Linked DNA regions of Homo sapiens: regions 2, 3, 4, 5 and 6 are each linked to region 1. The links are contacts of gene promoters, found by promoter capture Hi-C in blood cells and fetal thymus (Javierre and others, 2016). All regions are on one chromosome and are shown on one strand. Each heading gives the region's core, a stretch centred on a gene start or on the middle of the fragment in contact. The rest is flanking DNA. Distances are from core to core; before and after follow the strand shown. Region 1 holds the start of CNNM4 (cyclin and CBS domain divalent metal cation transport mediator 4). Region 2 has its middle 15 kb from the start of ADRA2B. Region 3 holds the start of DUSP2 (dual specificity phosphatase 2). Region 4 has its middle 28 kb from the start of STARD7-AS1. Region 5 overlaps STARD7 (StAR related lipid transfer domain containing 7). Region 6 overlaps STARD7-AS1 (STARD7 antisense RNA 1).

The links. Contacts are between HindIII fragments. The CHiCAGO score rates a contact against its expected background, and 5 or more counts as called.
Region 2: a fragment that was not itself captured here is called in contact with the fragment with the promoter of CNNM4 in region 1 in 1 of 17 cell types (activated CD4 T cells); the score reaches 5.5 in activated CD4 T cells.
Region 3: the fragment with the promoter of DUSP2 here is called in contact with the fragment with the promoter of CNNM4 in region 1 in 7 of 17 cell types (total CD8 T cells, naive CD4 T cells, activated CD4 T cells and 4 more); the score reaches 7.3 in total CD8 T cells.
Region 4: a fragment that was not itself captured here is called in contact with the fragment with the promoter of CNNM4 in region 1 in 5 of 17 cell types (naive CD4 T cells, total CD8 T cells, non-activated CD4 T cells and 2 more); the score reaches 7.9 in naive CD4 T cells.
Region 5: a fragment that was not itself captured here is called in contact with the fragment with the promoter of CNNM4 in region 1 in 2 of 17 cell types (naive CD8 T cells and non-activated CD4 T cells); the score reaches 5.6 in naive CD8 T cells.
Region 6: a fragment that was not itself captured here is called in contact with the fragment with the promoter of CNNM4 in region 1 in 7 of 17 cell types (naive CD8 T cells, activated CD4 T cells, non-activated CD4 T cells and 4 more); the score reaches 6.6 in naive CD8 T cells.

Annotation. Positions count from the first base shown.
Region 1 is chr2:96,758,889-96,762,453 of GRCh38, reverse strand. It overlaps CNNM4 (cyclin and CBS domain divalent metal cation transport mediator 4), which reads right to left and starts at 1,552. Exons shown (of 7, transcript NM_020184.4): 1 at 53-1,552. The coding sequence starts at 1,454. RefSeq lists enhancers at 327-915, 795-1,044, 916-1,505, 2,065-2,114 and silencers at 1,008-1,191, 1,315-1,734. The HindIII fragment of the contact is 3,226 bases long and covers 1-2,507 here.
Region 2 is chr2:96,099,306-96,102,870 of GRCh38, reverse strand. No RefSeq gene overlaps it. Among named protein-coding and RNA genes, the nearest start is that of ADRA2B, 15 kb to the left of the region's middle. The HindIII fragment of the contact is 7,542 bases long and covers 1-3,565 here.
Region 3 is chr2:96,143,474-96,147,038 of GRCh38, reverse strand. It overlaps DUSP2 (dual specificity phosphatase 2), which reads left to right and starts at 1,599. Exons shown (of 4, transcript NM_004418.4): 1 at 1,599-2,072; 2 at 2,157-2,278; 3 at 2,666-2,885; 4 at 3,002-3,565. The coding sequence starts at 1,685. The coding sequence ends at 3,216. RefSeq lists enhancers at 40-919, 1,716-2,217, 2,620-2,669 and a silencer at 1,230-1,989. The HindIII fragment of the contact is 7,151 bases long and covers 829-3,565 here.
Region 4 is chr2:96,178,852-96,182,416 of GRCh38, reverse strand. No RefSeq gene overlaps it. Among named protein-coding and RNA genes, the nearest start is that of STARD7-AS1, 28 kb to the left of the region's middle. The HindIII fragment of the contact is 533 bases long and covers 1,342-1,874 here.
Region 5 is chr2:96,195,197-96,198,761 of GRCh38, reverse strand. It overlaps STARD7 (StAR related lipid transfer domain containing 7), which reads left to right. Exons shown (of 8, transcript NM_020151.4): 2 at 3,213-3,421. Among named protein-coding and RNA genes, the nearest start is that of STARD7-AS1, 11 kb to the left of the region's middle. The HindIII fragment of the contact is 7,570 bases long and covers 1-3,565 here.
Region 6 is chr2:96,231,493-96,235,057 of GRCh38, reverse strand. All of the region lies in intron 1 of STARD7-AS1 (STARD7 antisense RNA 1), which reads right to left. Among named protein-coding and RNA genes, the nearest start is that of SNORA112, 19 kb to the right of the region's middle. RefSeq lists enhancers at 807-956, 967-1,036. The HindIII fragment of the contact is 9,545 bases long and covers 1-3,565 here.

The DNA.
Region 1 (3,565 bases), core at 303-2,802:
GAAAAGAGGCGTCAAGAGGAAATTGAACCAGGGGAACTACATCTGGCCTTACCCTTCTTGAACTCCTCCAGCATGGCATCCAACTTGGTGTCATGGAAGACAAAGTGCACCGGGTGGTTATAGAAGCGAGTGATAGTCTTGAGGGGGGTGCAGTCATCGGGGTCCACAAAGGCCAAGTCTTTGACGTAGAGAATATCTACAATATTGGACTGCTCGTCTTCGAACACCGGGATGCGAGTATAGCCGCTTTCCATTATCTCCGACATGGTGTTGAAGTCCAGGATGGCATCGCTGCGGATCATGAAGCAGTCCTGGAGCTGGGTCATGATATCCTCTACAGTTTTGGTCCGTAGTTCCAGGGCACCCTGGATCATATTGAGCTCCTCTTTCACGAGGTCATTATAGGGCTCCGTCACCTTCAACATCTCCATCAGCTTCTCCCGGTTGTAAACAGTGCGAATCTCCTGGCCCAGAAAAAAGTCCAGGAGCTTGCTAATGGGAAAACTGAGGGGGAAGGTGAGTAGCATAAAGAATTTGGTGAGAAGGATGGTGTTGGCACCCACAGCCAGCCCATGTCGGGAGCACAGGGCCTGAGGTAGGATCTCCCCAAAGATGACAATGCCAATGGTGGAGGAGGCCACCGCCATGAGGCCGGACCCGATGAGGTTGTCTAGAAGGATTGTGAGGGAGGTGTTGACCAGCACGTTCCCTAGGAGCAACGAGCAGAGAAGGTAGTTGCCCTTGCGCCGGATGGGCTCAATCTTGCGGGCATAGCGCCTCTCCTTCTCGGTGCCACAGTTCTGCACGATGCGCAGCTCCATGGGGTCCAGGGCCATAAGCCCGAGGTTGAGGCCAGAAAATATGCCCGACAGCACCAGCAGCACCGTAATTAGGAGAATGTGCAGCCAGAGAGGCAGGAACCTCCCAGGCTCCTCCACCATGAAGAGCAGTGAGTCCTTGTCCGTCCACTTCAGCCAGGGCCCGTCGGGCTGGGCCCGGGTGCACAGTGCATACAGCTTCATGCTCTCGCTCCTCCGGAGGAACTTGGTGAGCACCACCAGCACGCCGGACGTGTTCCCGCGGCTCACGTTGACCAGCTGCTGGACGACCAGGTCCTTGGTGAGCTCGAGGCAGCTGGTGGACTTGTGGAGGGTCTCGGCATCGTCCACCTCGGTGAAGGAGATCAGGTTGCTGGAGATGTTGCCCAGGCTGTAGCCGTACAGCCTCAGGTTCACGGTGCTGCCCTCGGACACGAAGATGATGCCATCCGGGTTCGTCCCACACGACTTGTTGCAGCTCGCCAGCCTCATGCCCACGATCGTGCCCTGCTGGGGGCTGCCCTGGCCCCGGGCCCCCAGCGCCCACAGCAGCACCAGCAGCACCGGCGCCGCCAGGAGGAGGCGCCCGCGGGCCGGTCCGCCGACCGGGCGCCCGCCCCCGCCCACCGGCGCCATGTTGCTCTGGCTCTGCCGCCGCCGCCGCTCCCCGCGCCACGCCGCGCGGCCCCGGTCCGCACCGCAGCTCCGGCCGCTCCGCTGCCGCCGAGCCAACTGCCCGGGCCGCGAGCCTGACGTCAGGTCAGCGCCCCGCCCGCCCCGCCCCGCCTGCCCACGCCCCTCATTTGCATTGGAGGCCCCGCCCCCGGGGCTCGCTGCTTGAGCGCCCGCCCTTAAGGGGGTACAGTCGCTTAAGGTGGAGCAGCGCCGCCGCGCGAGAGCCGCCAGCGGGTACCCGCCCAGTGCTCCGCCTCCGCGCCCTTCCCCGCCTTTCTCTGCCAGTGGGGCCAGCTCTCCTTCTCCGGGACCTGGTCTCCTAGCTACGCCGTTCCTGTTCCTCGGCCTCGCACGGCCGCACGTGGGAGGCTCCTCTCCCGTCCCTCACCTGCAGCTAGGGGTGGCCCGCTCTGCAGGCAGGGCGAGAAAAGTGCTTTTCCTGATGTAGAAAAAGAAAAAGGAAACCTGAGGGCTTAGGCTGGCATTGCAGCCTGCCCCTTGGAGACTTTTCTGGCCTCCTCACTGCTGAGATTTTTGCCGACCTTGTCCTAAGGCCAGAAGTAGGTTACCCCAGCCCCAGCCCCAGCCCGACGATGCTTCCATCAACCAGTGGCTGCCTGATGTGGAAGGCAAATCTGGGGAACTAAGGTTATAGAAGGGGCAGGCTCTGGCCTAGACTTCTCTCCTGTCTCTTCCATTTAGGCATAGATATTTATTGAACACCTACTTTGTACCAGGCACTTGTTCTAGGCTCTGACAATAGAGCAGTGAACAAGCCAAAGTCGCTGCCCATTGGGGTTTACAGTCTAGAACAGAAAACAGGAGATAAACAAGTAAACACATATATTCATTAAATCCCCCCAACAACCCTCAGAGTTAGTAGAATTATTTCCATTTAGAGATGCAGAAATTGAGCCGAGACAAAAATCCTGGTGCCTCCATACTGTCATCTCCCAGCCCATTTCTCCATCTGTAAATGGGGGTAAGAATGACAGAGCATTACTTCGCTAAGCTTGCGGGATTGTGGACCTAGACATTGAACATGACAGGACAGCTCTTTAGAATATTCTTTGGCTAGGTAGTAGTTGTTGCTACCTGCCTTCCAGGACCAAACTCCTAACCCCAAATTGTGGTGATTGATCAGCTGGGCAGCTGCTTGTGGACATGAGCAGGCAGGCGCGGCAGTGGGCCTATCCCTGAAATGACTGCTTCCTGAATGGCCCTAGCCCTGTGTCAGTAGGGTGTATAAGGAAGACCACAGCTGCCCGCCCTGTGAGGGGGAAGAAGACAGACAGATAAACATCCTTACAATAATTGCACAGGTGCACAGAGAAGATCAGGTACTGGGTTGACCACCAGGTCTCACAGCAAATCTTTTGCCAGTACTGAAGACACAGAACCCACTTTACTCCCTTCCCGCACTGACACTTGTATTTATTTTCATTTTGGTGTAATGTTTGCTAATAAAAGCAGCAATCAGTACCAAACGGAAGGAGCCTAAACAGAAAGGATCACACAATGTTGTGGGAGGAGGTGTGGTAGCAGAGAGGCCCTGACTCAAGAAAGCCCTGTTAGCTGGGATTGAGGGTTCTGTAAACTAGGCCAGCCTGGAGAAGTATGTTGCTAGTAGGGGCCCCACTCATAGCGGATACTTTGCAGTGAGTGCCCAGCAGGTCAGTTTTTTCGAGGAATAGGAGCCTTGGAATGGGCACTGGCTGAGACAGAACAAAAGCAGAACCTTGACTGCCTGTTCCTTCCCTGTCTCCACCAACCAGGAAGAGCTACCTGAATTGCCTCAAAGCAAACCCAGCTCTCCTCATCTCCTAGTGAGCTGTAACACCAGCGCCCTGCTCCACCCCTACCCCCACCTCCCATACTTAGAAACTTTCCCATTCTATTATCAATCAATTGGCTATTTTTTCCCTTTTTCTTATGATTTTATTTTTTTCTCTATTATGTCTTTTTTCTGCTTAAGTACGAATTGGCTCCTTTTATTTTACCCTTTTCAGGCTGTCTACACTCAGAAGCTCTGTTCATATGCACTGAGTCTAATGACAGAAGCCAATAAAGAA
Region 2 (3,565 bases), core at 352-2,851, 660 kb after region 1:
CTGCACTCCCTCTCCTCAATTCCTCCTCTTCTCTTTGTTTAAATCAAATCTTCTGTTGAAGAATTCTCTAGAAGGGCTCAAAGTCATCAGCTTGGCTGGGCGCGGTGGCTCACACCTGTAATCCCAGCACTTAGGGAGGCGGAGACAGGCGGATCACCTGAAGTCAGGAGTTCGAGACCAGCCTGGCCAACACAGTGAGTCCCCATCTCTACTAAAAATACAAAAAAATTAGCTGGACATGGTGGCGGGCACCTATAATCCCAGCTACTAGGGAGGCTGAGGTATGAGAATCGCTTGAACCCCGGAGGCAGAGGTTGCAGTGAGCCGAGATTGCGCCATTGCACTCCAGCCTGGGCAACAAGAGTGAAACTCCATCTCAAAAAACAAAAAAACTCACAAAAATTAGCGGGCCATGGTGGCATGTGCCTGTAGTCCCAGCTACTCAGGAGGCTGAGCCAGGAGAATCGCTTGAACCTGGGAGGCAGAGGTTGCAGTGAGCCAAGATTGTGCCACTGCACTCCAGCCTGGGTGACAGAGCGAAGACTCTGACTCAAAAAAAAAAAAAATTCCTCAGCTCTGCCTCACCGACTACAGTTCCATCACATTAGTAATCTCTCTCTCTCTCTCTCTCTCTCTCACACACACACACACACACACACACACACACACACACACACACACACATCCCTTCCTGCTCAACAGCCCCACTCCTCAGGCGCAGTCAGCTTGGAGCCCCTGGAAGCCCCCAGCCTCTGGGCTCTCTTCTCTCCCAGCTGGGTCGCCCCTCACCCCTGGCCTGCCTTTCCAGGTCCAGGGTGTTATTTCAGGGAGGTGCTGGGGTCTGGGTCCTGTCCTTGAGGAAGCTCCCTTGCGATGACCCTGGAGGCTGTTAAGAGACCCCTCTGTCATCCCAGTGATGCCAGCCAGGCAGAGATCTGGGCTTGGGGCAGGAGCCCCGAGGCATGTGAAAGGCCAGGGCTTCATCCTCCCAGAGCCTGGGATCCACCGACAAGCAGGCCCTCTGCAGAGGCTGCGCCCCCCCCACCAGCTCTTGGCTGCCCCAGCTCTTGGCTCCCTCTCCCTACCCTCCGAGCTCCCTAGGGCTGGGATGCGTCCCTCCCGTGGACCAGGCAGTCCTGGGGTGGATGTCCAGGAGGTTCTGTGGGTGTGAGGCCAATGGCCCAGAGGACAGAGGAGAAAGGGCAGCTGTGGATGCCGCAGGCTTCATGGAGCTCCCCTAGGCTGGAGGGGGCTGGATGGGAGCCTTGGCCTTCAGGGTCCCCCAGACTTGAGAGATTCCACCAAATAGAGCCCAGGCCCCACAGTTACCCTGTAGTATTTCCCAAATACTGGGAGTGTCCAGTGGGTTGCAATAGAAATAATCATCTCAAGGGCCACAGTGGTGTAGTGTTGTAGAGAGCCAGGTGCAGAAAACGCTTTCTGTCTCTCCTTTTCTTCTCATCCACAAGTGCTGTCTCTAACTTTTTCCAGAAAGTGCTAGGGGATGAGGTTTGTAAGAATAGCCTGTCTCTAGATCTGCCCAGGAGCAGTTCTTGGCCCTGGGAATGATCTGGGGTGGGACCGTGTAGAGCAGTTTAGTTGCTGTGTGACCTCAGAGAAGTTACTCAACTTCTCTGACTCTTATATTATCATCTGTAAAATGAGGTTCCTGCTGCATCTCACTCTCAGGGTCCTGAGGAGAGTTAGGTTGAGATGCTTGTCACGGAGGCAGTGTCCATGCACAGGGCCTGGGTTTGCTGTCAGCCCTAGGCAGGATGGGTGAGGAGGTGGGACCTGGGTGCTTGGCTGTGGCTCAGAAGGTCTGTCCTGGGGTGGCCTGGCCTCAGGGACTAGGAAGGTCCTGGCTAGGCTCAGGTGGAGGGAAGGGTCTGGAATGAGGCAGGGGCGAATGGGGCCTGGGGCTGCCTCTGAGACCCTGTTTTTGGACTGCAGCACCCACCAGAGCTGCCACCTCTTCTCTTGGTTATTCACCAGGAATTACCCTAAATGCTACATCTGTTGTCATAACAACATCTTACCCATCCTTAGATAAAAGCCCTGTTTGCAGGGGGGTCAGGCTGTCTCCAGCTCCCCAAGCTCCATCACTGTCCCTCACAGCCCTCCTTGGGGTTCCACAGCTGGTCTTCCTCCCTCCCATTTTAGTTTTTTAGAGAGATCACTCCTCTGTTTCTAAATTTCTTCTCTGTCTCCCTTTGTGTTCCTGGGTCTCTCTCCGCTCCCTTTCCCTCACTCTCTCCTCTCTCCTTCCTTCTTCCTGGACCCTGAGCCTCCTCTCTTGGTTTCCCTCGGTCCCTTCTCGCTCTCCCTCCCTCCTTCTGCCCGCATCCCTGCATGCAGTGGGGTTGTGGGAAGGTGGCTGGTGGGGACAGGCGGGGCCTGCTGCCTTGGATGGGTCTGCTCTGCAGGAGCCTCAGGAAGCCCCTCGGGCTCTCCAGCCTGGGGTGAGGTGAGCCCAGGGTGGGCATGTTGCTGCACGCCCAAGAGCTTCCAGCCTCTGTGGTGTGCGTGGCCAGGAAGGCCTAACTGCTCTTGCAGAAGTGTGGCCAAGGGAGCTGCCCTTACCCCAACCCCAACCCCGCCCCAGCTTCAGCTCAACAGTCTCTGGGGTTCCAGCTCTCCTGCTGTCCTGACTGGGGCTTCACACACTTGTCCAGTGCCGACTTCTGCTCAGCACCATCCTAAGGGCACCCACACAGAGGCCACACAATGGTTCCAGGAGGGGTCATCTTTCCATTTTACAGCTCAGGAAATTAGAGACCAGAAGGGTCAAGCAACTGGCTCAAGGCCACACAGCTGGTCAGTAGAGGAAGTGGGACATGAAATTCCACTCCATAGCCAATGCTCTTAACCAGGATGCTGGATGGACGACTTCTTCCTCTCGGTCCCCTTCCTCTTTCTCCTTCTCACCCTCCCCCTCCTCTTTGTCCTTCTTCCCCTCCCCCTCCCCTTTCTCCTCCTCCCCCTCCCCTTCCTCTTCCCCTTCCTCCTACTCCTCTCCCCTCCTCCCATTCCTCCTCCTCCCCTCCCCTTCTCTTCCTTCTGCCTCTCCCCCTCCTCATTTCTCTCCCCTCCCCCTTCATCTCCCCCTCCCCTTCCTCCACCTCCTCCTTCTCCTCCTCCTCATTCTTTCTTACTGTGTGTCGGGCCCTGCATTTAGGAACACTGGGAACTCATCTAGCTTCGTAGCAACCCTACAAGGTTAGAGCCACAGTTATCTATTTTATCAATGAGAGAATCAGGGCACAGAGAGGTTAAGTAACTTTCTCAAGTCTCACTGTAGTTAGGGCTGTGTTAGGATTTGAACCCAGGTCTATCTGCCTCCAGAGCCTGGGCTCTTAGCCCTGAGTGCTATGCAGAGGGGATGGCAGCAGAGAGAGGACTGCATCTGTGGGACAAGGATGTGGGCTTTACACACACCCAAGTCCCTCCGTCTCCTTGATTCCTGTCAAGCCCCCTGTGGTCCCAGCCAGAGGCATTTTTGAGAATCAGAGGAGGAAGCCACGTGGCACAGTGTCCTCTTTGCTGAATTCTATGTAAGGGGGAA
Region 3 (3,565 bases), core at 350-2,849, 620 kb after region 1:
TGGAAGAGCCGCTGCACCATGATGTGCTCCCCTTACAGATGGAGACACTGAGAGGGTGACGTGGCCCCAGGGACCTTTGGAGTCCTTGGGGCTTTTCTCCTCTGCATCGGCTCTGACCCCAGCACACACAAGCTCCAGCTCCTTCTCACACATAGTGGAACTGCACAGGTACGATGCTGCCCTGCACACAACCAGGCATACAGCACACTGCTGTGAGGAACTCAGGGCAGACAAGTCCAGAAGGGCTGCGGGCTCTCCACAGGTCCCAGCTGTCACTCTTCAAGACGGTCTGGACACAGGGGTCTGTGGGGGAGCCGGAAGGGTCTTTCAGAGGGCACGGAGGAGGGCCTCAGGAGACTGGGGGCTTGGAGGGTGGGTTCTGAAATCCCACGCAGCTGGGGGCAGGGCGAGGGCAGCTCCAGCGCAGTGACGCTGTCTCCACCCACCTCAACTTCTCTGCTTGAGTTTGGGAGTTCACTGCCAACAATTCTTGTGGCTCAGACACCCCACGCACACCTGGGCCTCACCACATCCGGCAGCAGGGCTGGGGGAGGGCGGAATGGAGGGGATACCCAGGCCCCCAGTCCTCCGGGTGCAGTGCTAGCCCTGGACTTTGCTGCCCGGCGGGGCTGGACAGGGAGGCCTAGGATGGGGGAGGCCAGTTCTGTTCTGCTTCTCCCTCTTCCCCTTGCCAAGGTCTTGAAATCCCCGCAGGCCTGGGGAGGGCCGGGAGCGTCAGCGGACTTCCCTCCAGGGCGGGCTTGTGGCAGGGGGAAGTACTTCTCTCTGGGGCCTGGGGGCTTTCCCTGCACCCAGGAGGAAGAAGCTTTGCCCTACACATAACTGGAAACCAGTCACAGACCCCTGCTTTCCCCATGAAAGGCCCTGGGACCCCCCCTCATTTCCCTTCGGCCCAAGCCCAGGGGCCTGGGCCCCGGGGACTGTGTTCTGGCCTAGCTTGGCCACCAACCTACTGCAAGACCCTGAGTACTGGTCTTATCCAGGCAATGGGGGGTGGGGAGGGGGAGGAGAGAGAAAGTCCCTCTGGCTCAAGGTCTCCAAATAGATGAGAAATAGGACATCTCAGCAGGGACCCCCCCCATCATCCAGTGTAGAAATCACCCGTGGCAGCAGGCATTTGTCAATGTTTGTGGTGACAAATTTCTAAGAGGAAAATTCTGGGAGGGAAAGGGAAAAGGCAGAGGAAGCGTGGGGTTAGGGGGTGGGGTACTCCAAGGGTCATCGTTGGCCCTAAAGGGGGACCTGCATCTGAGAAGCTGGGTTCCCCAGGACTGAGTGGCTTGGGACAGGTCAAAGGGTGGGCGCAAAAACGGAGGGGTGCTAGTCCCTCCGACTCCGGGTAACACCTTCCCTTCCCTTAGTCGCTGGTCCCCGCCTCCTCCCGGTGTGTTGGTCCCCGCGCCCTGCCTTCCCCCTCAACCTCCCCCCCGCCCCGAAGTCTCCAGGTCAGCCCAGACTGCGCCCCACGTGAGGGGCGGGGGCGGGCGCGGGCGCCAGCGCCTTCCTGCTCTGCCCTTGTATGGTGCCCCGGAGGCCGGCCCACGGGTACTTAACCCGGGCCGCCGCGGAGGGCGCCCGGAGTCGACCGCTCGGGCAGCGCCACCGCCACGAGAGCCCGGGACGCGGGAAAGACCGAAAGGAAGAGGAAGAGGCACCGGTGGCCATGGGGCTGGAGGCGGCGCGCGAGCTGGAGTGCGCGGCGCTGGGCACGCTGCTGCGGGATCCGCGGGAGGCGGAACGCACGCTGCTGCTGGACTGCCGCCCCTTCCTGGCCTTCTGCCGGCGCCACGTGCGCGCCGCGCGGCCAGTGCCTTGGAACGCGCTGCTGCGGCGCCGCGCGCGCGGCCCTCCTGCCGCCGTTCTCGCCTGCCTGCTGCCCGACCGCGCGCTGCGGACGCGCCTGGTCCGCGGGGAGCTGGCGCGGGCCGTGGTGCTGGACGAGGGCAGTGCCTCGGTGGCGGAGCTCCGGCCCGACAGCCCGGCTCATGTGCTGCTGGCCGCGCTGCTGCACGAGACCCGCGCGGGGCCCACTGCCGTGTACTTCCTGCGAGGTGAGCAAGCCGGCCGCCCTTGGCCCGCCCCACCCGACTCCAGCCCGGCTTTCCCTGCTGATCGTGCTCTTCCCCTCCTTGCAGGAGGCTTCGACGGCTTCCAGGGCTGCTGTCCCGATCTGTGCTCTGAGGCCCCCGCCCCTGCGCTGCCGCCAACAGGGGACAAAACCAGCCGCTCCGACTCCAGGGCTCCTGTCTACGACCAGGTGAGTATTGACCCCCCTCCCCCGAACCTCCCTCTCTCCCCGCCGCGGACTGGGCGCCTCTAGGGAAAGAGCCTGCCATTTGGGGATGCGAGCAGTTTGCCCATATACACACACTTTTATACGTGTGTGTGTTGGGGGAGGGGGTGGGGCATGGCTGCTCGCGCGTGCCTGTATGGGTCTGTGTATGTTTGCATGTGTATGTTGGGAGCATGAAGGGAAATGTATGTCCCGGTGTGTCCTCCGCACATTCCTGAGACCTGTCTCAGGTCAGGAGGACTGGCTGAGGAGTCCTCTTGTCTCGGCCAGCCCATGGGGTCTCCACCCGCTGCTGCTCCAGCTCTCCGGGGCTGGGCTGGAAAGGCCTCACCGCCCCTCTGTTCCCTCCAGGGTGGCCCTGTGGAGATCTTGCCCTACCTGTTCCTGGGCAGCTGCAGTCACTCGTCAGACCTGCAGGGGCTGCAGGCCTGTGGCATCACAGCCGTCCTCAACGTGTCCGCCAGCTGCCCCAACCACTTTGAGGGCCTTTTCCGCTACAAGAGTATCCCTGTGGAGGACAACCAGATGGTGGAGATCAGTGCCTGGTTCCAGGAGGCCATAGGCTTCATTGGTAAGGGGGCACCTCTGCCCAGAAATCCCGAGGGGCTCCAGAGGAGAGGACTGGGGGCACCTGTCTCCTGGGCTGTGCACATTCCGTCTGACACCACTCCCCCATCTCCCTTGCAGACTGGGTGAAGAACAGCGGAGGCCGGGTGCTGGTGCACTGCCAGGCGGGTATCTCGCGCTCTGCCACCATCTGTCTGGCATACCTCATGCAGAGTCGCCGTGTGCGGCTGGACGAGGCCTTTGACTTCGTTAAGCAGCGCCGGGGGGTCATCTCCCCCAACTTCAGTTTCATGGGGCAGCTGCTGCAGTTTGAGACCCAGGTGCTGTGTCACTGAGGTGGTGCCCCTCTGCCTGCCTGCCCCACTGTGCTGGCAGGAGCTGACTGTGGACTGGTGGGCTCCCCTCTGGGCCAGCACAGTCCCCTCACCTCTGGCAGGGCTGCTACCTCCTCAGAGTTTCAGAAGCCCCCACATGGGGGCTCTAGGAATGCCGGCATGCTGGTCTTTCCGACCTGGTGCTCTTCTGCTGGGGGACTGAGGCTGGCCCTCATTCGGGGTCGGGAACCAAGGGTGTGTCTGCTCTTTCCCTCCCCATCCTCTGGCAGAAATCAGCTAGACGCTATACCGTGGACTCTCCCTGGTCCACCACCATGTTGAAGCCCTTGGCAGCCTGAGAGCTCCAAGG
Region 4 (3,565 bases), core at 359-2,858, 580 kb after region 1:
AGTAGCTGGGACTACAGGTGCCTGCCACCACGCTTGGCTAATTTTTTGTATTTTTAGTAGAGTTGGGGTTTCACCGTGTTAGCCAGGATGGTCTTGATCTCCTGACCTCGTGATCTGCCCATCTTGGCCTCCCAAAGTGCTGGGATTACAGGCGTGAGCCACTGCGCCCAGCCCAATCTTTCTTCTTTTTCTCTATGTTTTCTCTCACTTTGTCTTATCTTTTGTTCTCTTCCTCTTCATGCAGGGTGGTACGCGTGGGAGCTGGGTGGGCTGTCCAGTGTGTTTCTGCCTGCAAATTGCAGGTCAAGGTAGACTGCTTTATTTCTTAACCATTGACATATTTGAAACTGGTACCTTTTTATGTGTCACAAAGATTTGAGTATTGCACACCTAAACCCATTTCTCTATAGGCCTTGCAGTTTTTGTTGTGTGGTTTGTGTAGACATGTTGTGAGACAGCAGCACTGAGTGTTCTATGAACAGGAGAACCAAATAATAGGAAAGTAGTGATGCTTTAATAGCTAGCGTGGGCTTAGCTATCACAGCGTGGTGACCGTGGGTTGAGTGTTAGTATGAGGTTTTCATTTTAAAAAATGTATATATATATAGAAAAAGACGAAGAAACTACGTTGTATACCCTTCCCTTTGCTGGTGTTTAACATCTGCTGTGTGTGCTTTCTCTTTCTATATACACAGTGTCATGATCATTTGAAAGTAGGATGCAAACATCATGGTATTTCACCCCTAAACAGTTGAGCATGCTTTTTATAATACAGGTGTTCTGTGTAGCCACAATACCATGAGCACACAAGATAAATAACAATGCCACAATATCTAATAATGCAGTTCATATTAAAATTTCCAAAATGACTTTTATAGCCTCCCCAACCCAAGATTAATTATCGTGTGTTGCATTTGTCTCTTTGGCCACTTTTTTTTTTTTTTGTGAGACAGAGTGTTGCTCTGTCACCCAGGCTGGAGTGCATTGACACCATCTCAGCTCACTGCAACCTCCACCTCCCGGGTTCAAGCAATTCTTCTGCCTCAGCCTCCCGAGTAGCTGGGATTACAAGCGTGCACCACCACACCCAACTAATTTTTATATTTTTAGTAGAGATGAGGTTTCACCATGTTAGCCAGGCTGGTCTCAAACGCCTGACCTCAAGTGATCCACCCGTCTCAGCCCCCAAAACTGCTGGGATTACAGGCGTGAGCCACTTCGCCCGGCCTTCTTTGGCCACTTTTCATCTAGAACAGTAGTCTACCTTTTGTAACTTCACCTGTGCTTCATATAATAGAATGTAGAGCAGTGGTCTTCAAGCTTGGCTGCACTTGGGAAGCTTTGCAAACTCCCAAAGCCTGGCCCCACCCCAGACCATTGAAACCTCTAGGGGTGAGCAAGTGTTGTGCAAGTGTACATGAACAAGTGTTAAATGTTGAATGTGATCAAAGGGAGACAAATAGGCTAGAGAGGCAACAGTCTTCCTAGATCCGCATACTACTGATGTAAGTCTTGTCATACTGTTGGCTTATGCTGAGTTTGGGATTAGCCAATAATAGCCACCATTATTGAGCATCTACTGTGCCAGGCACCATGCTTCATGCCTTCATCTAATTCTATAGCCCTGTGAGTATGTAGCTAGTGCCTCATCTATAAAATGAAGAGATGGCATTAGAGGTTAAGTAATTTTCTTGCTCAGGGTCACACAGGAAGTGACAGCCAGGATGCAGACCTAGCTCTAACATCTCCAAAGACAGCTGGCAGCATGGCTTAAAACTTATGTTTTTAAATTTTTTTATTTTCCCCCTAAAACTTAATGTTTATAAATACTGCCAGATTCTTTCCCCTGGGGGTAGTTGACTTGTTTGGAAGCTTGGATCATAGCTTGCTTTATTTTTTATTATTTATTTATTTATTTTTATTTTTTGGCTAGTGACACAGCCCTCAGGAGATCTTGAGAACATATGCCCCATGAGCTTGCTTTTTAAAAAATTTTATTTTTTGAGATAGTCTCGCTGGTGCCCAGGCTGGAGTGCTGTGGTGCCATCAGATCTCACTGCAGCTTTGAACTCCTGGGTTTAAGTGAACTCCCACATCAGCCTCCTGAGTAGCCCAGACCAACCACAGGCATGCACCACCATTCCCATCTAATTTTTCTGTAGAGATGGGGTCTCACTGTGTTGCCCAGGCTGGTCTCAAACTCCTGACTTCAAGTGATCCTCCCACCTAGATCTCCCAAAGTATTGGAATTACAGGTGTAAGCCACTGTGCCTGGCCTAGGCTTGCCTGCTTGCTTGACTTTTGTTTTTTCAGAGTCCCACTCTGTCACCCAGGCTGGATTGCAGTGGCGCAGTCAAGGCTTACTGCAGTCTTCAACTCCCTGGGCTCAGGCAATCCTCCCACCTCTGCTGGGACTACAGCACGAGCCACCACACCTGGATAATTTTTGTATTTATTTTATAGGTGGGCTTTCACCATGTTGCCCAGGCTGGTCTCAAAACTGGCCTCAAGCAATCTTCCCAATTTGGCCTCCCGAAGCACTGGAATTATAGGTGTGAGCCACTATGCCTGGTTTAGGCTTGCTTTCTGTGTTAAATTTTATGTGGTTTACACTTCTTACCCTCTAGTTCCATCCAGTATAATAGCCAGTTGCTTGAACTTTATCTCTTTCACCAATTGTTTGAGTTCTGTTTCTGTAAGTATCTGGAATCATTTTTCTCTAGAACACTTCAGAATGTACACCACTCCCAGTACCATACTGTGTAATGAAGGGATGGGGGGTGGGGACATCTTGAAATAACGTTTTCTAAAGGTATTAAATTTCAAAGTCACCAGTCTCTGAACCCACCATGATAGGACAGAAATCTAAATATTTTTCTCAAAGTGAAAATAGCAATAAAATCTGAGAACTATGATTTCTAATGAATAAACTTGAAAGCCTTTTAAAAATCAAGCAGTAACGTGTAGATGAAAGTGATCTTAATGCAGATGTACTATCCCTATAAGCCTCAGCGGGTACTTGATGGAGCATCATTCAAATAGAGCCTCAGGCTCTCCACTGTCAGAGCTGCTTTAATAACCTCAGGGTTGGTTGTGACCCACACATATACTTTAAAACATTTTTAAACAGATAATTTATAAATTTTATAAATGACCTTATTGCCCCCCACCCCTTTTTTTTTTTTTTGGACACAGAATCTTGCTCTGTCGCCCAGGCTGGAGTGCAATGGCTCAATCTTGGCTCACTGCATCCTCTGCCTCCCGGGTTCAAGCAATTCTCTGCCTCAGCCTCCCAAGTAGCTGGGATTACAGGCACCTGCCACCACGCCCAGCTAATTTTTGTATTTTTAGTAGAGACAGGGTTTTATCATCTTGGCCATGCTGGTCTTGAACTCCTGAACTCATGATCCACCTGCCTCAGCCTCCCAAAGTGCTGAGATTACAGGCGTGAGCCACCGCACCTGGCCTATTATCCACTTTTAAAGAGCCTAACCATACCTAAAAAGGTAGGCTGAGTGTTTGAATATGTGAGCCGGGCGTGGTGGCTCAGGCTTGTAATCCCAGC
Region 5 (3,565 bases), core at 318-2,817, 560 kb after region 1:
ATTAGGCAGTGGTTTCTTGGCTATAACACCAAAAACAAGCAATCAAAGAAAAAATAAACATCAAAATTAAAAACTTTTATGCATGAAAGGATACTATCAAGACTAGTATAAGCACATGAAAAGGTTAGGGAAATACCAGTCAAGACGCAATGAGATACCATTTCACACCCACTAAGTTGGCTGGAATAACAAAGATGGACAATAACAAGTGGGGCAATTGGAACCAAGGATGTGGAGCAGTTAGAATCCTCAAACATTGCTGATGTGAATATAAAATAGTGTAATTGTTTGGAAAACATTTTGGCAGTTGCTTAAAAAGTTAAGCATAGTTACCATGATCCATCAAATCTGCTCCTAGGAATCTACCCAAGAGAATTGAAAACATGTCTATATGAAGATTTGTACACAAATGTCCATAGCAGTATTCTTTTTTTTTTTTTTGAGACAGTTTTGTCTTTTCGCCCAGGCTGGAGTGAAGTGGTGCAATCTTGGCTCACTGCAACCTCCACCTCCTGGGTTCAAGCAATTCTCCTGTCTCAGCCTCCCAAGTAGTTGGGATTCCAGGCTCCTGCCATCACACCTGGCTAATTTTTGTATTTTTAGTAGAAATGGGGTTTTGCCATGTTGGCCAGGCTGGGTCTCGAACTCAACCTCAGAGTGATCCACCCACCTTGGCCTCCCGAAGTGCTAGGATTATAGGCATGAGTCACTACGTCCGGCCAGCAGTATTATAATAGCAGTAATATAATATAGTGCTATTATAATAGCACTATAATAAAATAGTGGAAACAAATTTTATTTGATGAATGGATAAACAAAATGCGATCTATCCATACAATGGAATATTATTCAGCTATAAAAAGGAATAAAGTACAGCATGGTTGAACTTGAAAGTATGCTAAGTGAAAGAAGCTCAACACAAAAGCTACATATCATATGATTCCATTTACTTGAAATGTCCAGAATTGGCAACTCCATAGAGACAGAAAGTAGATTAGTGGCTGCCTAGGACTGGGAGGAGGCAGGAATGGGAAGTGACTAATGATAGATAGAGGTTTCTTTTGGGGGTGATAAAAATGTTCTGGAATTAGGGGTGATGGTTGCACAACCTTGTGAATATACTAACAAGTACAGAATTGTACACTGTAAAAGAATGAATCTTATGGTATGTGAATTTATCAATTTAAAAACAAAGGGGAAAAATACATACATACTTATAATAAGACAACCCAATAAAAAACGGACAAAAGATATCAATTGACATTTTAAAACCATAAACCTTCATAGTTAACATTTGAGGGCTACTTACGTGCCAGATAACAAACACTTTATTTTATTTTATTTTTTATTTATTTTAGAGATGGAGTCTCACTCTGTTGCCCAGGCTGGAGTGCAATGGTGCGATCTTGGCTCACTGCACCCTCAGCCTCCTGGGTTCAAGTGATTCTTCTGCCTCAGCCTCCCGAGTAGCTGGGATTACAGGCGTCCACCACCATGCCCAGCTAATTTTTGTATTTTTAGTAGAGATGGAGTTTCACCATGTTTCCCAGGCCGGTCTCGAACTCCTGACCTCAGGTGATCCGCCCACCTCGGCCTCCCAAAGTCTGGGATTACAGGCGTGAGCCGTTGTGCTTGGCTTTATTTTATTTTATTTTATTTTATTTTATTTTATTTTATTTTATTTTATTTTATTTTGAGACGGAGTTTCGCTCTTGTTGCCCAGGCTAGAGTGCAATGGCACGATCTTGGCTCCCTGCAACCTCCGCCTCCCGTGTTCAAGCGATTCTCTTGCCTCAGTCTCCCGAGTAGCTGGGATTACAGGTATGTGCCACCGTGCCCAGCTAATTTTGTATTTTTAGTAGAGACAGGGTTTCTCCACGTTGGTTAGGCTGGTCTCAAACTCCTGACCTCAGGTGATCGCCTGCCTCAGCCTCCCAAAGTATTGGGATTACAGGCGTGAGCCACTGCGCCTAGCCTATTTTATTTTTTAAGAGACAGTGTAGCTGGGCACGGTGGTTTACGCCTGTAATCCCAGAACTTTGGGAGGCCGAGGCGGGCAGATCATGAGGTCAGGAGATTGAGACCGTCCTGGGTAACACGGTGAAACCCTGTCTCTGCTAAAAATACAAAAAATCAGCCGGGCATGATAGCGCGTGCCTGTAGTCCCAGCTACTGGGGAGGCTGAGGCAGGAGAAATACTTGAACCCAGGAGGCGGAAGTTGCAGTGAGCCCAGATCATGGCACTCTATTCTAGCCTGGGTGACAGAGTGAGACTCTGTTTCAAAAAAACAAACAAAAAAAAGAGACAGAGTCTTACTGTATTGCCCAGACTGGAGTACAGTGGCAGAATTGTAGCTCACTACAGCCTCCAACTCCTGGGCTCAAGTGATGTTCCCATCTCAGCCTATAGCTTGGAGTACAGGCATGTGCCACTATGCCTGGCTAATTTTTTAAATTTTTTCTTAGAGGTAGGGTCTCACTGTGTTTCCCAGGTTAGTCTTGAACCTGGCCTCAAGGAGTCCTCCTGCCTTGGCCTCCCAAAGTGCTGGGACTACAGGAGTGAGCCTCTGTGCCTGGCCATAGATATTAAGCACTTGACACTTACTTTTTTTTCGTTGTTTTTTGTTTTTTGTTTTTTTTTTTTTTTTGAGACAAGAGTCTCACTCTGTCGCCCAGGCTAGAGTGCAGTGGCGTGATCTCGGCTTACTGCAACCTCTGCCTCCCAGGTTCAAGTCATTCTCCTGCCTCAGCCTCCTGAGTAGCTGGGATTACAGTTGCGCGCCACCATGCCCGGTTAATTTTTGTGTTTGTAGTAGAGACAGGGTTTCACCATGTTGATCAGGCTGGTTTTGAGCTCCTGACCTCGTGATCCACCCTCTTCTGCCTCCCAGTGTTGAGATTACAGTCGTGAGCCACCACGCCCTGCAGCACTTGACACTTTGTAATCTTTATAGCCAACCTCGAGATAGGTACTATTATTATTTCCATTTTATAGATTTAGAAATAGGAACTGGTTAAATAATAATCTAGTTAGTGAGTGTTGGACTAAGATTCAAACTCAGGAACTCAGTTTTTATTGACTATACTGTGTCCTGTTTATATACTACATACTGTGGTTTACTGTATAACCTTCTTGCACAGACCTTTGTGTGGACACTTCATTTCACAGGGCTGACTAACCACCTCACCATGGCTCTTTTTCCCCTTTACAGATCTATTAATGAGATGAAGCGGTTGGAAGAAATGTCAAATATGTTTCAGAGCTCTGGAGTCCAGCACCACCCTCCAGAACCAAAAGCCCAAACAGAAGGGAATGAAGATTCAGAGGGCAAAGAGCAACGTTGGGAAATGGTGATGGATAAGAAACACTTTAAGCTGTGGCGGCGCCCAATTACAGGCACCCACCTTTACCAGTACCGAGGTGAGCCCAGTGTGGCTATCTTTTGGGTTCCATAGTTGCACAGGTGCATGGGATTTCTGTTCTTCATACTTCTCTAAACTGTTCTGGTTGTTTCTCAGAAAATTTGCCGTAGTTTTTTGTTTATTGTTTTTCTTCTCCCAGATG
Region 6 (3,565 bases), core at 312-2,811, 530 kb after region 1:
CTAGGCTGGTCTCAAATTCCTGGGCTCAAGTGATCCTCCCGCCTTGGCCTCCCAAAGTGCTGGGATTACAGGCTTGAGCCACTGCACCTGGCCTGAGTTGCTTCCATTTTCTCATTAAACAAAGCAAGTCATCAGCTGAGATGTGAATCTCAGTAATACTGTCTGTATCATGAGACCTGTCTCCTTGGCCATAATTACCACAACCGGACCGGGGATGAGCTCCTAATCCAAGTGAAGGCACTTGATTCTTTCTTTTGGGAGCTTGAAGTGAGGATTCAAAGACATCAGTGTCAATTAGTGCTCAAACTGGAAGGATTTGTAAATTTAGAAACTGGGTCAGACATTTTTCTTTATATAAATGGAAAAGCTGAGAAGATTAGGTAGGGGTTGGGTGAAAGAGTAAAGCAGAAAGGAAGTAGAAAAGTAGAAAGAAAATAAGAGTCCACATAGACTTGGAGTTGCAAAAGAGGAATTACTTAGGTTCCTGTCCTAAGGTTTGAGTCCTCTGAGAAGATGCCCAGATAGGACTAAATGTGCAAGAGATGTGCTGGGAAAACACTTGTGAAGCGAATAGCAGGAAGCCGGAAGAGCCTGGGAGAGCTGCAATGCAGGTGTAGCCCCTGCCAGGAGACAGGAATGGAGGAGGGCTGGGTTGAGGAGGTGTTAGAACGCAGTGTAGTTCTTTCTTTTTCAGAGACAGTCTCCCTTTGTTGTCCAGGCTGGCCTCAAACTCCTGAGCTCAAGCAATTCTCCTCCCTCAGCCTCTTGAGTAGCTGGGACTACACATGCCTAACCATGCCCAGCTTAGAACGTAGTGTAGTTCTAAGAAAGCTCTGCAAGAGCTGATGAGGTGTGCTTGTGCCAAAGCCACCTGTCAGAGGAGTCCCCATATCCCAGAAATGGGCCTGCCTTAGTATGGCAGGCCTGCACTCAGTCACCGGGTGGGAGCAGCTCACAAGAAGGGTGGTCTCAGTGCAAATGCAGTGGCAGAATTTCATAGCCCAGCAGCAGGGGGCCATGTTACGCTCCCCTGCATTCAGAGATGTGAGCAGTGCACTCTCATGGCCACAGCTCCCAATGCCTTTTCAGTTCCTTTTTCTACCACCTTATGATGCGCAAGTGCCTTTCCTGCCTGTGAATTCTGAGCTTCTTGAGACACTCCTGGATCTTTCAAATTCGATTCCATATTTATGCTTAAACTACTTTGAGTGGATTCCAAGTACTTGCAACAAAAACAACAACAAAAAACATAGATTGAAATAGTAACAAGGGGACTATAATCTAAATTTTCTATATAAGAGGGGATGGAAGGAGGTAATAATAATTCTAGCGCTTATTCCTTATACCCTGTAGAGGGTTCTACAGTTTGTAATGTATTTTAGCTTACACAATCTTATTTGAGTCTTACAACAACCTCTGAACACAAGTAAGGCTGGCATCATTATCTGTATTTCACAGATGAGGAAGCTGAGTTTCAGAGACAATACAAATTATGCTGAATTGAAAAAAAATGGAGGCCGGGCGAGGTGGCTCACGCCTGTAATCCCAGCACTTTGGAAGGCTGAGGCAGGTGGATCACCTGAGGTCGGAGTTCGAGACCAGCCTGACCAACATGGAGAAACCCCATCTCTACTAAAAATACAAAATTAGCTGGGCATGGTGGTACATGCCTGAAATCCTAGCTACTTGGGAGGCTGAGGCAGGAGAATTGCTTGAACCCGGGAGGCAGAGGTTGCAGTGAGCTGAGATAGTGCCATTGCACTCTAGCCTGGGCAAAAAGAGCGAAACTCTATTCAAAAAAAAAAAAAAAAAGACAAACCATATAAATGTTAGCCTCTACCTATAAAAGCAGTGAGCCAAAAGCAGCACTGCATTCCTGGAGAGATTGCAGAAATTAGTTCCACCACTAATCAATGATCTGAAAGACACAGAGCTGATGATTTCCATTCAGCTTAGCTCTCTAGCCTGTGCAGATCCAAGATGGATCCAAGAGAATGGCGTGGATTATTATAAACTCAATTAGGTTGTGACTCCAATTGCAGCTGCTATTCTAGGTGTGCCTTCATTCATGAAGCAAATCAATGCATCCCTTGGAGCAAAGTATGCAGCTATTGATCTGATGAATGCTTTTTTCCTCAGCAATTTTTAGTAAAGACCATCAAAAGCAGTTTGCTTTGAGCTGACAGGGCTAGCAATACCTATTCGTTATCCAAACTCAGGACTGTATCAATTCGCAGTCATCTGTCATCATCTAGTTTGTGGAGACCTTGTCCTCTTCTCTACTCCACAGGACATCACATTCATCTAATGTGTTGATAATATGCTGATTAGAAGTAGTAACTATTCTAGCCACCTTGACGAGATATATGTATGCCAGAGGGTGGGAAATAAATCCCACAAACATTCAGTGAACCTTCTGGGGGGCCTAACGGTCTGGGGCATGTTAAGCTGGGCCCTACTACCACTAAGAGGCACAATGCCCAGTGGTTTTGGATTTTGAAGGCAATGTATACCTCATTTCAATGTTCTTCTCTGACCCATTTTCTGAATAACTTAAAAGGCTATCAGTTTTGAGTGGGGCCCAGAAGAAAAGATGACATTGTCATGACAGTTCCTGACTTATGAAGGTTCAACTTAATTTTTTTTACTTCAGCAATGATGCGAAAGCGATGTGCATTCAGTAGAAGCTGTATTTCGAATGCTGGATTTTGATCTTTCCCTAGGTGAGTGATATGTGGTGCGATGCTCTCTCGTGATGCTGGGCAGCAGCAGTGAGTGCAGCTCTGCCAGCCACAGGATCACTAGGCTGGATGACCAATATTCTACAGTGGGCTGTATGGACGGATCACTTTGCCCAACTGTAGGCCAATGTAAGTGTTCTGGGCATGTTTGAGGTAGGCTAGGCTAAGCTATGATGTCCTGTAGGTTAGGTGTATTCAGGGCATTTGCAACTCAGGATATTTTCTTTTCTTTTTCTGAGATAGGGTCTCACTTTGTCTCACCAGGCTGGACTGCAGTGGTGCAAGCATGGCTCTCTGCACCCTCGATCTCCTGGGCTCAAGCCATTCTCCCACCTCAGCCTCCCACGTAGCTGGGACTACAGGCGTGTGCCTCCATGCCTGGCTAACTTAAAAAATTTTTTTTTTTGTAGAGACAATGTCTTGCTATGTTGCCCAGACTGGTTTCACACTTCTGGGCTTAAGTGATCCTCCAGCTTTGGCCTCCCAAAGGGTGGGGATTACAGGCATGAGCCATTGCACCTGGCGAAATTTTTATAATTGTATGTTGTCTCAGCATCTGTTTTAAATACAGGTTAGCCTTTCTCATATAAAAAGCAGGACTCAGTCACCCTTGACACATTGTCCAGTTCTCCACCTCCTCCTAGCTCCTCAGTGTGATCAATCTAGATACCTGCCTTATACAACCACCTCCTGATGACCACTTCCCTGTGGACACCTAGATACTACATATGTGACTTGCTCCAACCCCCTCGCCCCACATGGACTGCCCAGACATGCTGCAGTGACCACCTCTGAGTCACAGCATGACCCCATGATACTTGTGC